4 separate regions of the Homo sapiens genome follow, and regions 2, 3 and 4 are each linked to region 1. The links are contacts of gene promoters, found by promoter capture Hi-C in human tissues and cell types (Jung and others, 2019). All regions are on one chromosome and are shown on one strand. Each heading gives the region's core, a stretch centred on a gene start or on the middle of the fragment in contact. The rest is flanking DNA. Distances are from core to core; before and after follow the strand shown. Region 1 holds the start of ELAVL3 (ELAV like RNA binding protein 3). Region 2 holds the start of SPC24 (SPC24 component of NDC80 kinetochore complex). Region 3 overlaps SMARCA4 (SWI/SNF related BAF chromatin remodeling complex subunit ATPase 4). Region 4 has its middle 5.0 kb from the start of ZNF69.

Region 1 (3,714 bases), core at 499-2,998:
GGAGCGAGGCGCGGCCGCTAGGTGGCGTGCGAGGCGCGTAGGCCCTGGTGGCCGCAGCCACGTGACCCTGGGGACCGCAGCCGCGAGCTCAGGCACGTGCCCGGGGGAGCCCTGTGGCGCCACGCGCAGATTGGCCCCGCCGGTTCCTCACCAGTTCGGGGGATGAGGCGGGGCCCCAGCTATGCCTCAGTTCCTGCTGCGGACCGGGGGGCTACCCCAGCCGGGGACAGAAGAATCGGCAAGGATGAGCGAGTCCGGCCGCTGGGGCCGCCCCCGCGAGCTCCCTCCCCCCGCGAGGCAGGTCCCCTCCACTCTCCCCGCACTGCCGGAGCCGGCAGGTTTCCATGGGAACCGCAGCGGGGTCCGCGCGCCCAGGAGCAGCCCCCCTCCTAGCTCAGTTTCCGATGACGGAAACCGGGAGGAACACGGGGTGGGGAACAGACCATCGCTTGGGGCCCCTAGCGCCCGCAGCCAGGTCGCCCCGGCGAGCCCAAGAGGGGCCACCCGGGGATCTGCACCGCCACCGCCCCTATTGCGCGGGCCACTGCGATTGGCCTGCCCTTTCCAGGCGTGGCAGCATCCCCTGGTGCGCGCACTCCCATTGGCTCGATCTCTAGGGCATCTTCCAGTAACTGGTTATCTCAAGGGCCGCCCCTGATTGGGCAAATTAGGCTCTCCTCGCTGGTGGCGCTCTCTGACAGTCTGGAGCCTAAAGGGCGTGCAGGAACGAGGATTGGGTGGGGACTGCCGCTCTCCAGTTAGGGGGTCTGGGCTACCTCGCCGGCAGCGCCCTCGACCGGACTGTCGGATTGCTGTCTGTGGTGCTGAAGCCTCACGCCCTGGCGACCCCGCCCCAGTGTGTGCTAGTTCCCGCGCCCCGACGTAAACATGCACCGGCGCCCGCGCACCAAAGGAGGCTGCGCCACCCCCAACGCCTTAGAGAGAGGCCAGGTTCCCCCTAGCAGAGAGCGAGCATGACTCCACAGTCAGGAGGACCAATCACGAGCCTAGAAAGCCAGGACATTTATGTGGCAGATCCACCCACCCCAGTTCTGTGGGGTCCAAGAAGGATCCGTGGTTTCCCAGAGCTGCATGGCTCCAGCGATGATTGTCCAGAACACTGAGCCCCAAACCTTTTCACCCCCTTCGGAGCAGTGCGGAGTTTCCTTGCACTGGGGAGTGCCAGTCCTTACCTTTTGAACCCTAGAAGGATCCAGCTCACTCAAAACCAACAGCGTCCCAGTCTCCTTCTGCAGAAGACTAGGGCCACAGTAGCCACCCTCCCCCGTGGTCTTGAGGTGGTCTACACTGGTGCCTCCAAATCTGGGGACCCAGGCCTCTGCCTACTAAAATATTGGTTCCTGATCCCCTGTCCAGTTCCCTCAGTGGACAACACCTCTGGAAGGTCGCATATTCAGGCCACTAATACCTCCTCGCTCTGTTGGCTCCTCCAGCTCTAGGAGCTGGACGGAGGAGGGGAGCCCGTCTCCTGGCCCGAAAGCCAGCCCAAGAAGGGGTGCCAGGGTAGGAAGCAAGGGCCTCGAGGGAAGGAGGGCCCAAATCTGGCAACCCGAGCACCTAGGATGCGCTTTTGGGGGATTCAGAGTCCCGACCAGTGCGCGCTCACTTCCACCTGCCGCGCCGTCGGGAGCCGCGAGGAGGCGGAGCTCGGTCGCCGCAGCCAATGAGCGACGCCGGCGCTGGCAGCTGCTGCTATAAAGGGCTGGGGGCGGCGGCGGCGCGGTCCAGAGCGCGGAGCGCGCAGCGCGGGCCGGAGGGAGGGAGGGAGGGTGGGCGAGGGGAGAGGACTTGAACACACGGGACCGGACAGGACCGACCGAGGGGCGGCGGCGAAAGGCAGAGCGCCGCGATCTCTGTCGGGAAGCGCAACCTCCCCGGGCCCCGCGGGGCCGCGCAGGGGGCGTCCTCAACCCCGCGCCCGCTCCCTCTTTCCATCCCCTGCCGCCCGCAGGCCACCCCGGGGCCCGGCCATCCGCGCGCGCATCCCCGGGTTCGGGCCCGTCCCTGGCCCTCGAGGGAGCCGCCGCCTTCATCGCCACATCTGCAGCGGCCGCACCAGAGGCCGCCCGGGCGGGACCCCAGCGTGAGCATCGGGCGCCCCCCTAGGAGTGCACCACCCCCGGAGCCCCCCTCAACACGGACCGCGCCCGCCGGGCACACAAGAATGGTCACTGTAGGTATTCCCCTGTCGCCGAAAGGGAATCGGGACGGGGAGGAGTTGGGCCCAGGCTCCGCGGAGATTGGGCGGGTGCGGCGGGGGGGGTAGGACCAGGCCTAGCTAGGCCCGGGTTGGGGGGGTAGGACCAAGCCTCGGGGCCTGAGAGTGGGCAGGGCCGCGCCCAGAGTGCTGAGGGCGCTTAGAGCTTGGTCTGAGAGGGCCTTAGGGAGACTGACTGCGATTCGGGAGGCGTCCGACGCCGCCCTGGAGGCGGGATTGCCCCCTCTCCAGCAGGCCTGATGGGGGAGGGGCCGCGGCGGCTAAGGATGCTTCCTCCATCCAGGCCCAGACCCCGCAGGCCGCCCAGGCAAACGCAGGGCCCGATCACTGGTGCTGGGCCAAGCCAAAGCGACAAAGCGTCCCCGAGAGCCCTGGGAAAGCGGGTGGCGTCGGATCGCGCGCCCCGGGCCTCGGCCGCACCCGGGAGGCGGGCGTCTCGTCCTCGAGCCCGTCGACCTTGCGGCAAGCGGGGAGGGGAGAGGAGGGGGCGCGCCCGGAGGCCCCGCGGGCCCGCCGCCGCTGCTGCCGCGTCCCTTTGTTTCTCGGCGCTTCTTCGCGGGCCGCAGCCTCGCGCGGGCGCCTCGGGCTGCGGGGAGGGGGAGGGGAGAGGAGGGCCCGCGGGTTGGGGGGGCACCTCTGGGCTCCCGGGTCTCCGCCCCCCGGGAGATGGGGTGGGAGGCCGAGACAGCCCCCTTAGGCCAGGTCCAGGCTCCCCACCTCGCCAAGGCTCTGGGCCGCGAGGTGACCTTGAGCGCGGCCCGCCCGCCTGCTCGCCCGCACCGCTAGCCCCGCGCTCGGTGCTTTCAGCAGCCACGGAGCTGGTCAGCTCCCGAGCGCGCAGCCCCTCCCGCCCTGCCACGCCCTGCCTGGCCACGCCCGGGCACGCCCATCTAGGCCCCGCCCCCAGGGCCCCGGGGGCCCGGCCTCGCCCGAGCCCTCGGATTCCCACTCGGCAGCCCGGGCGTATCCCGGGGGCGGGGCTGGCCAGTTATAGCCCCACCCCGGCTCCACCCCCGCCCCTGCCGCGCGACTCCGCTCCCCGCGCCGCCGCGCGTCCTTTGTCTGGTCCCGGCGCCTGGGCCTCCCTCTTCCACTCTTCCTATCTCTCCGTCTCTGCGTGTGTGTCTCTGTGCATTGTGTCTCTTTCCGGGCCCCTTTTTCGAGTCGTGGCTAGCACTGGGGGTGGGGGCATGATTGGCGCTCCCTCCATGCCTAAGCCTCTCCCCTCCTGGACCCTGGGACCCGCCCACCTGGCTCTGAGAAATGAGGTCCCGGAGGCCTGGCTCACCTGCTGTGTGACCTCAGGCCGTTCCTTTCCCTCTCTGGGCCTCGTGCTGTTCACCCAGGTCTGGGAACTGGAGTGTGGCCTCCTGAGGACCTCAGAACTCCCGCAACAGTCCAGCATCTCCTAAGCGTCCTCTGATCGGTTCTCTCATTTGAAAAAGGAAACTAATGCACAAAGGGAAAGAGGGTGT
Region 2 (3,652 bases), core at 48-2,547, 330 kb after region 1:
TATAATCCCAGCACTTTGGGAGCCTGAGGCAGGCAGATCACGAGGTCAGGAGTTCAAGACCAACCTGGCCAACATAATGAAACCCCGTTTCTACTAAAAATACAAAAAATCAGCTGGGTGCGGTGGCGGGCACCTGTAATCCCAGCTACTCGGGAGGCTGATGCAGGAGAATGCCTTGAACCCAGGAAGCAGGCTGGAATGCCTTGCACTCCAGCCTGGGCAACAGAGTGAGACTCTGTCTTAAAAAAAAAGAGAGAGAAAGAAAAAAAGATGCCATCTTAACATCTTGTTTCTTGCAGAAATACCAGTGTCTAGCATGGAACCAGCACCTTAGAGTCAGCACTGATCTTTTCTTTGTTTTGTTTTGTTTTGAGACAGGCTAGTCTCAAACTCCAGGGCTCAAGCGATCCTCCTGTCTTAGCCTTCCAAAGAGCTCAGACTTACAGGCGTGAGCCACTGCACCCAGCTACATGCTAGGATTCTATGTATGTTTCATTAAACAACTATATAGCACCTACTGAATAGGAGACACTATCACGCCAGGCTGGGCTCGGTGGCTCACGCCTGTAATCCCAGCACTTTGGGAGGCGGAGGCAGGAGGATTGCTGGAGGCCAGGAGGTCGAAGTTGCAATGAGCTATGATTGTGGCACTGCACTTCAGCCTGGGTGACAGAGCAATACCTTGTCTCTAAAAAAAAAGTAATAAGAAGAATTCTCACGCCAACGCTGACACAGGCACTAGTATGACCCTCATTTTACTAAGGAGGAAAGTACCGCACAGAGAGGTGAAGTCTGTCCAGGGTAACACAGCTAGTAAGTGGCAACGCTGGGATTCGAACCCAGTAAATCTGGCTGCAGACGCCATTTTGCTATGCAGCCTCTCATAGAATCTACTTATTCTCTATGCTTATTGTGTATCCCACGCACACACTGTAGGATGTAAGTTCCAGGAGAAGCTGCTCGCTGCTTTGCCGTTAGAACCCCACCCTGCACAGAGCAAGCGCTCGACCTATGGAGAAATAAACAGCCGCTTTCTCTCCCGCGCAGGCGCATCGGGAAGGATAACGGAGCCTCCCCCTTCCTGCGCCGATTGGTCATCACCGATGACTGACGGAGGAGTGGTCGCAGGCGCACCAGGCCAGACCAAAGGCGGCTTAGCCCAGTCTAAGATCCTGTTCCCCATGCCTATTGGCCATTGCTTATGACTGACGTATCAAAAAATCCAATGGAAAGCAACCTCTTCTGGAAGAGGGCGGGCCCCGCGGACAGTCAAATTTGCGCGGGTTGGAGCCTGGCGTAGTCATGGCCGCCTTCCGCGACATAGAGGAGGTGAGCCAGGGGCTGCTCAGCCTGCTGGGCGCCAACCGCGCGGAGGCGCAGCAGCGACGGCTGCTGGGGCGCCACGAGCAGGTGGTGGAGCGGCTGCTGGAAACGCAAGACGGTGCCGAGAAGCAGCTGCGAGGTGAGGGTCGGAGCGTGGTCGCGGGCCCACGGGGGAAGGGGCCCGGGTGCTGGGAGGGGGCGACCAGGCCCACCTCAAAACCCCTTCTCTCCTGGACTCTCCCATCTCCTGCCCTATGCCCCCTGGGACGGCCCCCTCTGAGCCTTAGTTTCACCATCTGAGAAATCGGCTTTATGACAGCAACCATCCCCCACCCCCCAGGGGTTTAGTGGTAAATATAGGAGTCTGGAGGGGTTGGCCCCTTCTGAGCTCTCCGTGAGCAGGAGCTGGGGGTCTCAGGGTTTGAACTGGGGCTCAGGAGTCAAAGCTCCGGGTTTGAATCCTAGCACCCATCCCCATGTCCGCTGTGAGACTTGAGGTGAGTTTCTTAAATTCTCTGTGCCTCAGCTTCCTTCCTTGTCAAATGGTTGTGACAATAGCCCATCCCTTCTTCCTGAAGGCATTCAGATGTTTTATGGAGCATCTGCTGCTGCCAGGCCCTGGGCTCACCGCAACCTCCACCTCCCGGGTTCAAGCTATTCTCCTGCCTCAGCCTCCTGAGTAGCTGGGATTACAGGCGCTTGCCACCGCACTCGGCTAATTTTTGTATTTTTGGTAGAGACGGGGGGTCACCACGTTGGCCAGGCTGGTCTCAAACTCCTGACCTCAGGTAATCTGCCTGCCTCAGCCTCCCAAAGTACTGGGACTGCAGACGTGAGCCACTGTGTCCGGCCCATCTTCACTATCTGTAACTGCACAGTTCAGTGGCCTTAAGCACATTCACACTGCTGTGCAACCATCAGCACCATCATCCATCTCCAGAACTTTCTCATCTTTCCAAACTGAAGCTCTGTCCCCATGAAACACTCACTCCCCATCCCCTTCTCAGACCCTGGCACCCACCAGGGTTCTACTTTCTGTCTCAAATTTGACTCCTCTAGGAACCTTACGAGGAATTGTACAATATCTACCCTTCCTAGTGGAATCATACAATATCTACCCTTTTGTGTCTGGCTTATTTCATGGAGCATAATGTCCTCCAGGTTCATCCATGTCATAGCCTGTATCAGAATTTCCTTTCATTTTGTGTACTTACTGTGAGACAGAGCCTCGCTCCATTACCCTGGCTTGAATGCAGTGGTGTGATCTTGGCTCACTGCAACCTCTGCCTCCCAGACTTAAGTGATCCTCCCACCTCAGCCTCCCAAGTAGCTGAGAACACACTTATGCGCCACCATGCCCAGCTAATGTTTGTATTTTTAGTAGAGATGGGGTTTCACCATGTTGGCTAGGCTGGTCTTAAACTCCCAGCCTCAAGTGATCGCCCACCTCGGCCTCCCAAAGTGCTGGGATGACAGGGGTGAGCCACTACGCCTGGCCAGAATTTCCGTCCATTTTAAAGCTGAGTCATATTTCATGATATAGAAGGATGGACCGCATTGTGTTTATTCATTCATCCATCCATGGGCACTTGGGTTGTATCCACCTTTTGGCTGTGTTGAATAACGCTGCTATGAACACGGGTGCCCAAATATCTCTTCAAGACTGTATTTTTTTTTTCCTTGAGACGGAGTCTTGCTCTGTCACCCAGGCTGGAGTGCAGTGGCGCAATCTTGGCTCACTGCAAGCTGCGTCTCCTGGGTTCACGCCATTCTCCTGCCTCAGCCTCCCGAGTAGCTGGGACTACAGGTGCCCGCCACCACGCCCGGCTAATATTTTTATATATATTTTTTTAGTAGAGACGGGGTTTCACCGTGTTAGCCAGGATGGTCTCGATCTCCTGACCTCATGATCCACACGTCTCGGACTCCCAAAGTGCTGGGATTACAGGCATGAGCCACCGTGCCCAGCCATATTTTCTTCTTTTTTTTTTTTTTCCCAGGACAGTCTTACTCCGCTGCTCAGGCTGGAGTACAGCAGCGTGATCTCTGCTCACTGCGACCTATGCCTCCTGGGTTCAAGCAATTCTCCTGCCTCAGCCTGCCAAGTAGCTGGGATTACAGGCACGTGCCAACATGCCCAGCTAATTTTTGTATTCTTAGTAAAGATGGGGTTTCACCATGTTGGCCAGGCTGGTCTCAAACTCTTGACCTCGTGATCCGCCCGCCTCGGTCTCCCAAAGTGCTGGGAATATAGGCATGAGCCACTGCGCCCAGCCCAAGACTCTATTTTCTTTTTTTTATTTTTTTGATATGGAGTCTCGCTCTGTCA
Region 3 (3,931 bases), core at 1,325-3,824, 460 kb after region 1:
ACTGGCTCATACTCACCATCAAGCCTGAGGTATTTAAAGCCGCGATACGCAAAGTAATCTTCCATGATGGTCATGAGGGAGGTCATTTGGCAGAACAGCAGCACTTTGTGGTTGGTTGCTCGGAGTTTGGGAAGAATTCTATCAAGAAGCTCAAATTTACCCGAGGCTCGGTACAGGTCCAGCCTGGAGTGTGGAGGAGGCAGGAGAGAAGGCGCAGGATGTTAAACCTGGAACCCTGCAGGCAGGTAAGGCAGGAGGTGCATCGCCCGCCTCCAGGCCAGGCGCCGGGTTCAAGGGCACAGACATGCATCCTAAGCAGACGTCACCCACCCAAAGCTTCAGCAAAGCCATTTCCCCCAACTGAAATAAGCCCGGCCACCCTCGCTGGGGAGGCGTATCACCAGGGTGGCACATGTATTTCTCGTCAAACCCAGACACTCATGAAAATGAGAGGAGCTGTGAGTCACATGGCCGGCACAACACGGGGCTGGAACAGGGATGCTCCGGGAAGCCAGACCTTGTCCCCTTGCCCGATAAAGAAGCCCCAGGAGCAAATGCCACACTGGAGACACCCATGCTCTGCTAGACCCAGAAGGAAGGGCCACCTCGGCTTCTCATGTTCTCTCCAGCCAAACCCCAAGTGTTGTAGATGTGGACACTGAGGCTGGCAGGGGGACGACGTGATATGGCTGACCACATGTCCAAGCCAGGCCTCCCAGCCTTGAAGCCAGGTGTACAGGACCCTGTTCCACAACTCAGTATAAAAAAACACATCAAAAAGAATTTGTGATGTTTTCATTAGGCGCCTCTCTTCTTGCAAATGGCTTACTACCCCAGGGGAATTGAATGGAGGCTTTAGCTGGAAGAATGCTTTTAGCAAGGTTCTTTGCAATGGTGAAAATCTAGACACAGCATCCACATCCATTAGGGGCTTAAAGGAGTCTGGGCTGCCCCTTACAAAGGGTGCTATAGAAAACACCCACATGATGTAAAGAGTGCCTCTGTACTAGTGAGCAGAGTTTAGGCTCAGAGAGGTTAAGAAAGCTGTCTAGAGTCACAGAGCTTGGAGGCGGCAGAGTGGGATCTGTAAGCCAGGTCTGCCTCAGGAATCCTGTCTCTTGGGGTTAATAGTGGTCAGCTCTCCAAGCACTAAAGATTTGTATAATGGGGCCGGGCGCGGTGGCTCACACCTGTAATTCCAGCACTTTGGGAGGCCAAGGCGGGTGGATCACTTGAGGTCAGGAGTTCAAGATCAGCCTGGTCAACATGGTGAAACCCCATCTCTACTAAAAATACAAAAAATTAGCTGGGTGGTGGCAGGTGCCGGTAATCCCAGCTACTCGGGAGGCTGAGGCAGGAGAATCATTTGAACCCAGGAGGCAGAGGTTGCAGTGAGCCGAGATTGTGTCACTGCACTCCAGCCTGGGCAACAAGAGCAAAACTCCACCTCAAAAAAAAAAAAAAAAAAAGATTTGTATTATTTGCTTTGGATTCTTCTGTATTTTCTAATTTTCTGCCTTTGAAATTGGACAACATAACAGCAGCAATAAAGCCAACAAAACGACAGAAAACCTCTGGGTGGACCACCTGCCCACCCCATCCAGTTGGGAAGCTTCTCACCCTTGGACAATGCCGCCAGTGAACCCCAAGTGCTCGGAAAAGGACTCCTGCAAGGCAAGGAGAGAGGGGTCAGTGACAGGCAGGAGCAGGCCACCGGGCCCCGCTGCGGTCCGCACACACCGCTCGTGCTCAGAGGACAAAGCCCCCACACTGTGTGCTCGGCACGGGCCCACGGCGGCTCTGAGACCAGACACAGATGCCAAAACCATCTTTCTTAGTCCACTGACATCCTTTCCCTCACACTCCTCCAACGAAGGAAAGGACATCCCATACAGCACTCTTCACACCCTGAATGCACGAGGACGTCATGGGGCCACAGCCACGCTCAGGGTGCTGAGACAGCCCCAGGGGCTCTCGGGGCAGCAGGCGGTCTCCAACGACCCTGACACTTTACACCAAGAAACACGAACATATGCATGCTTCTAAGAACCCAGATTCTCAAAGCCACCATGACCAAAAAGGGTTCTGACTCCCCCACACTTCACTGAAGACGGTGGTGACTCTTGACGCCCCGCAACGTGAGAAAAGCCAGTGAGCCAAAGAGACGCAGCAGGACCCCACTGTGGGGGGACACATCCCCAGAGAAGTCTCCAAACGCTCCTGCTCTCTGAGGGCAAGCTTTCAGGGCCCTATATTCCTATCGCACGTTGCGCCCTAACTGCTGGGATTCTTCCCGTAAGCACTGGTGAAGCGAAGACCAAATGAGAGACAGATGTACAGGCATTACCTAATGAAAATATTCGAGTCTGTTTTTAAAGAGCTGTCGAGGAGAAGCCAGCTCTGCCTAGGAGCTCAGCAGACAGCAGGGCCTGAGCCGTCCCAGCCGCGGCGGGCTCACCTCGATGTGCTGGAACATGTAGGGGTGGTTGCAGATCTTCCGCAGCTGCATGATGGTGTTCATCAGGGTCTTGGTGCCGCCTTTGCCCTGGAAGGCAGATGAGAGGGACCCAAATGGGGTCTTGCCCTCCTGGGGTGGGGTGGGCTTGGTGGATGGGTGGGTGTTGGGAGAAGGGCCATGGGGACGCTCTAGTGGGGAAGAGTGGCTTTTGGCACAGCAATTGGGAGTGAGGAGATGGCAGGCTGGAGGCCCGGAGGCCCCCAACAAGCCCTGGGAAACAAATGACTGCCTGGCACAGCAGAGGGCAGATGGCAGGGACAGGGCCAGCAGGACGGGACGGAAACAAGACTGGCAAAGGGCTGAGGCAGAGTCCCCGATGCTTTGTGATGCCAGCTTTGTTCTGGGCACTGTTACTGTGGGGGTCCCTAGAGGGTCTCAGCTGGGCAAGAGGGCCTCAGCCGGGTGAGCCATGACTCAGGGCTCCCTGGGCTCCAGGATGAGGAAGGAGGTGGGGGCGGGGCGGGGGGTGCATGCTCTGGGCTGGGAATGGACTAGGGAACACACTGCTGCTCAGCTCAGGGGAGAAGGGGCACAGACACAACGTCTCGGGGAAGCCAGGCCGAGGTCAAGGCCTTGGGGGCAGAATCAAGGGGTCTGGTGCATTTCCTGGGAGGATAATTTCACTGCTGGTGAGGAGAGCCAGGCAGGTGGGGCCTGGGGCCTGGGATTCTCAGAGCAGCCCCTGCAGGAGACAGCCCGCTCCCTTCCTTTCACTTAATAACAGAGAAGGGGGGCATTCTAGAACACTCTAACCCTGCTGGGGTTAGTGCTGGGCCCAGGCTGCCAATTGCAGAAGGAGCCAGTGTTTCATAGGCAAAGGAGAAGCCACTGGCAGCTGAGTCAGTGTGTCCTGACACAAGCCACCAGCCATCATAACCAGGGCTGGCCAGATGCCCTGGGGATCATGACCAGATCATGACCCGATGGTCAGAGCACGCTCTGCTCTGCCTGCCACGCTGCCGGCCTTGGACACCCAGTGGGGAATGCAGTTGGGGGACTCTGGGGCCCACCTTCTTGTCCTTCTCGGAGCCATCAGTCAGCAGCACGCCCTTGGCCTGCATGTGGCGGTAGAGCACTCGCTGCAGCGCAGACATGTCGCACTTGATGACGTACTCCACCTGCAGGGGACACATAATGCTCACGAGGGCCCAAGGTGGCTTGAGGCCTGACTCCCCCCATCCGAACCCAGCTCTGACCCCCTCGGCCCTGTCATATGAGCTCTGACCAGAGCACACTGGGGTGTGGGTGAGGAGACCCTCACAGCTGGGGAGAAGAGGGGAGACCTGGGCAATGAGAGGAAGCACCAGGCAGAGATACCAGAGGGTTACTGGGCCAGAAAGGGCCCCCCAGCCATCTTCTGGGGGCCTCTCTACAGCCAGCCAGGAAACAAAGAGCCAAGAGGGACAACTGCAG
Region 4 (3,601 bases), core at 174-2,673, 400 kb before region 1:
ACTTCGGGATATAGCAGAGAGAGAGCTTGGCATGATTTGTTGCCCCAGGCTGTGGAATTTTGGAAAAGAGCTACCATACAGCCTATGCCTGGTCGGCTGAAGGGCTATCCTAGTGGAAAGGAAACAGTCTGGGCCTCTAGTCTGCCATGCATACAAGCGTAACAATTGCTTTTGTTCAATGTGCGGACGGAATATTGAATCCATTCCAACCAGGTATTTACATCTTGATATCCTGTTTTAATTGCTAGGGTTTGTCTTAAATCTTTTACTTCTACAATATTTACTTTAGTAGTATCATTAGGTAGAAAACAGGTGGCAGTCTGATTAGAAGAAAGCTTAGAAGGAGAAGAGAAGGAAGGGGGTGAAGAGAATGAAGGATTAATAAAACGCATTTCGAAAGATCTTATGAGGTCTGTGCTGGCCAAGTTGGCTCCTGTTCCATAGAAGTGACTTAAAGTAGGTTTAGGGTCAGTAGAGGTGGAAATTTGTATGGGATTACATTGATTATACTGGCAATTGGGGAGGTGCTTTTTTTAGTGAAATGAATGTATGGTTTTAAGGATATACAGCCACCTGCTGATGAGGTCTAGCCTTGACATTTGGTTGTCCATAGGACATCATTCTAGCTATGACAGACTTGTTTTCTTATATTTGTTAAGGAACAAGAGTCTTGGTAGGGGGGGCCTTTCACCTTAAAGGGGCAGAGATACTTTTCTGAGGCTGAGACTTGTCTTTGACTTTGGAGATCTTTACAGGGTATGACTAGACATAGCATTAAACGTGATAACTTGGGGTGAGTTTGATTGAGTTACATTAATGACAAGGTGGTCAGCATTGGAAGGGGAAAAGAAGAAAGAGTAATAGAATAGATGTAAGAGGTTAAATTTTTCTTAGCTTTAGTTTGAGGGGGTTTTCCCCTGGAATAATGGCCTACGACTTTGGGGGTGGCGGTGCTTTCTTGACTCGGGTGTGATGGGTCTATCCTTTCTCTGCTGTCCAGACTGCAGTTTCAATGGTGGGAAGTACTAGGCCAGCTCCTCAGGCCGGTGTTGACGCACTGGGAACTCCAGGAGCCGCACCTGTACTGGAAAATTGTGAGTTTTGAGGGAAGAGAAAGTGGAAGATAAACCAAGTATGTAGGAATGTTGGCAGTGGATTGCTTTGAGAGGTAGTTTGGATTAATAGGAAGACAGAAGACATTTGAGTTATGGCAACTAAGTTTCTAGACTTGTTTGGCTAAGGATGTACATTTTCATACACATATAAACTTTAACTGTGCTATACATAGCTTGAGGTCTTTAATGGGTCCTCTAATTTAGGTGGGATAGGACTTCTTTCATAAGAGGTTTAAATAACATTTGAATTCCCTTCAGTGCCTACAGGAGAAACGGCAGCTGGTTCGGATTATCTGATTTGCTAGGTTATTTTCTTAACTCTTGAAAGATAGGATTTTTGGTGCCTGGGGACGTGGAAAATAGCTTTTTTTTTTTTTCTGGTAACTGAAGGTTATTTAACACTTGGGTTATTAACTCTTCATGAACAAGGCTTTGACCTTTATTATTGTCTGAAATTTTCTAAATGTATGAGCCACGATAAAGGTGTATTTAGAATCAATATAGATTAGTATAGATGGTTCCTTTGCAGTTACTTTAAAGCTTGACTAAGTGCAAACAGCTTACAAATTTGGGTAAACTATTAAACAATTTTTAAATTTTATTTCTCTAGGAACTTCTCTATTTATTATTGAACATCTGTTGAATCCTTTTTCCTTTAATCATTTTTGAAGGGGGTTTCTCTTAAGTTTGGCCGGACATTTGTATGGTAATCAGTTAAATCTAAACATGTGTGCTTCCTTTTTAGATTTGGATCTTTCGTTAAGAAACTTGTTAGGTTAAGCAAATTACTAGTAACATTAAACTATCATTTTTAACAGAATAGCCTCATATTTATACACATGTAATTCTTTTTTGGTGGTACATTTTAACATAGGTGACTTTAAAGAATCAGAGTTCTTTTCTGGTGGATATTTTCACTTTTAACACTGGCCTGACTATAATAAATGCTAGTGGATATATCCGCTGAAAGATTATCTACTTCTTGCTCAGGAAACTTAGCTGCGGGGATGCCAGGCTGCTTGGAGCCATCGCTGAAGCCCCGTATTACTTAGCCTCAGCAAAGTAAGGCAGATATCCTATAATGTAGTTTGCATGGGGCATAGGCTGGGGCCTGGCTCGCATGTCATGCAGAGCTGCCGTCAATACAGTGCCAGGACCTTGGACCAGCCAGTGGGCAGGAGCATGGGCTTTGCCGCTGCAGGGGTGCACTATGGGCCAGACAACGCTGACAACATGTTGCGGCAGATCCTTCATGTTGCTAGCCTGGCAAAAGCCATCTGGTGAATTAGGAGCTTGGAGTTCTTTAGGGGAGAGGGACTTAGGCTGGGGAAGAACAGACTTACTGGGCGATGCCTGAGGGGAAGGGTTGGGTATTAGGTGGGGAATGGTCTAGGGGATCTTGCGAGTTGTTCTTTTTGCTAGGATCCCCCAAGCCCCTTCCTTCACTGTCTTTTTCATTAAAGATGGTTCTATCTTAATAGGGCACATGTACAACTCATTTTCCTCCAAATATTAGTTTTTGACTTGCTCCTTTCAATCCTTGGAGGAGGGGAAAGGACAACTCCTTGCAACTAACATAGGGCATAATTTGTTTCTTCTCAGGAGGCAGGTCTTCTACTAGCAACATTTTCTATTAGAAGTTCACAAATCCATCCCTCATTCGACTTAAATTCTGGCCAGAAAACTAAGGGTTCAAGGATTCGTTCTTGAGTCTAAATGGAACAGCAATATTTTATCACTAATTGCTTTTTCTTATGTTTAGTCTTTTCATTATCTTTCTAATGTTTTAACATGAGACCTAGGGGACTATTAGGGGGGATATCTTTGTTGCTAACTTTGTCTTTTTTGCTTGTAATATTTCCTATACTGGGTCCTGGCTAGGCTCAATCCCTCGTGATAGGAATCTCTTGCCTAGGGGGGCTTGCTGTGGCTCAACCCCTCATATTAAGGATCTCTTGCCTATTTTGGGGGTTCCTTGTGGCTCAGCCTCTCAAATTAAGGATCTCTTGCCTATTTGGGGGGTTCCTTGTGGCTCAACCCCTCATATTAGGAGGTCTTTTGCCTATCCCTCACTGGAAGTGTGGCTAAGGCTCAATTCCACTATCCTTTAGCTCCACCTGCTGGAGGTTCCTTGCACCCTTCTTTCGCTTCATCCACTCTGGCCGCTTCCCTCGCAGGTTTGTTTCAGGTTCCTCTTAGCATTGATGGCAGGTCCGTATAAACCTGTGACAGGACCCCCGCAGGGCTGCCCTAAGCCGTGTGAGGTGACCACAGAACCGCAGATTGGACTCACTCGCTCCGCACAGCAGTAGTGCTTGTTACCATTCATGCACTTTCAACCCCCAGAATGCCCTGACACACCCCTCCGACTACCAAAGAATTACTTTGTTGCCCCTGCAACGTTTCCCACCTTGGTCTGTGCACAGAGTTTACCTGGTCGCTGCGGTATTGCAAGCCTCTCTTCCCCGCGTTGCTGAGAGTCCGGG

Evidence for each region. The method cuts DNA at HindIII sites, captures the fragments that hold promoters and counts their contacts. A contact is called where the count stands out against the background at its distance.
Region 2: the fragment with the promoter of SPC24 here is called in contact with the fragment with the promoter of ELAVL3 in region 1 in 4 of the 25 tissues and cell types used here (dorsolateral prefrontal cortex, lymphoblastoid cells, mesenchymal stem cells and 1 more).
Region 3: a fragment that was not itself captured here is called in contact with the fragment with the promoter of ELAVL3 in region 1 in 2 of the 25 tissues and cell types used here (aorta and spleen).
Region 4: a contact is called between a fragment that was not itself captured here and the fragment with the promoter of ELAVL3 in region 1, in 4 of the 25 tissues and cell types used here (dorsolateral prefrontal cortex, hippocampus, lymphoblastoid cells and 1 more).

Annotation. Positions count from the first base shown.
Region 1 is chr19:11,479,080-11,482,793 of GRCh38, reverse strand. It overlaps ELAVL3 (ELAV like RNA binding protein 3), which reads left to right and starts at 1,748. Exons shown (of 7, transcript NM_001420.4): 1 at 1,748-2,194. The coding sequence starts at 2,186. RefSeq lists silencers at 1-381, 412-661, 3,036-3,230. The HindIII fragment of the contact is 31,814 bases long and covers 1-3,714 here.
Region 2 is chr19:11,153,427-11,157,078 of GRCh38, reverse strand. It overlaps SPC24 (SPC24 component of NDC80 kinetochore complex), which reads left to right and starts at 1,297. Exons shown (of 5, transcript NM_182513.4): 1 at 1,297-1,462. The coding sequence starts at 1,303. RefSeq lists a silencer at 1,181-1,340. The HindIII fragment of the contact is 16,265 bases long and covers 1-2,355 here.
Region 3 is chr19:11,024,036-11,027,966 of GRCh38, reverse strand. It overlaps SMARCA4 (SWI/SNF related BAF chromatin remodeling complex subunit ATPase 4), which reads right to left. Exons shown (of 35, transcript NM_003072.5): 21 at 3,529-3,636; 22 at 2,459-2,545; 23 at 1,621-1,667; 24 at 17-183. Among named protein-coding and RNA genes, the nearest start is that of LDLR, 63 kb to the left of the region's middle. The HindIII fragment of the contact is 3,199 bases long and covers 975-3,931 here.
Region 4 is chr19:11,881,029-11,884,629 of GRCh38, reverse strand. No RefSeq gene overlaps it. Among named protein-coding and RNA genes, the nearest start is that of ZNF69, 5.0 kb to the left of the region's middle. RefSeq lists an enhancer at 3,130-3,309. The HindIII fragment of the contact is 6,745 bases long and covers 1-3,601 here.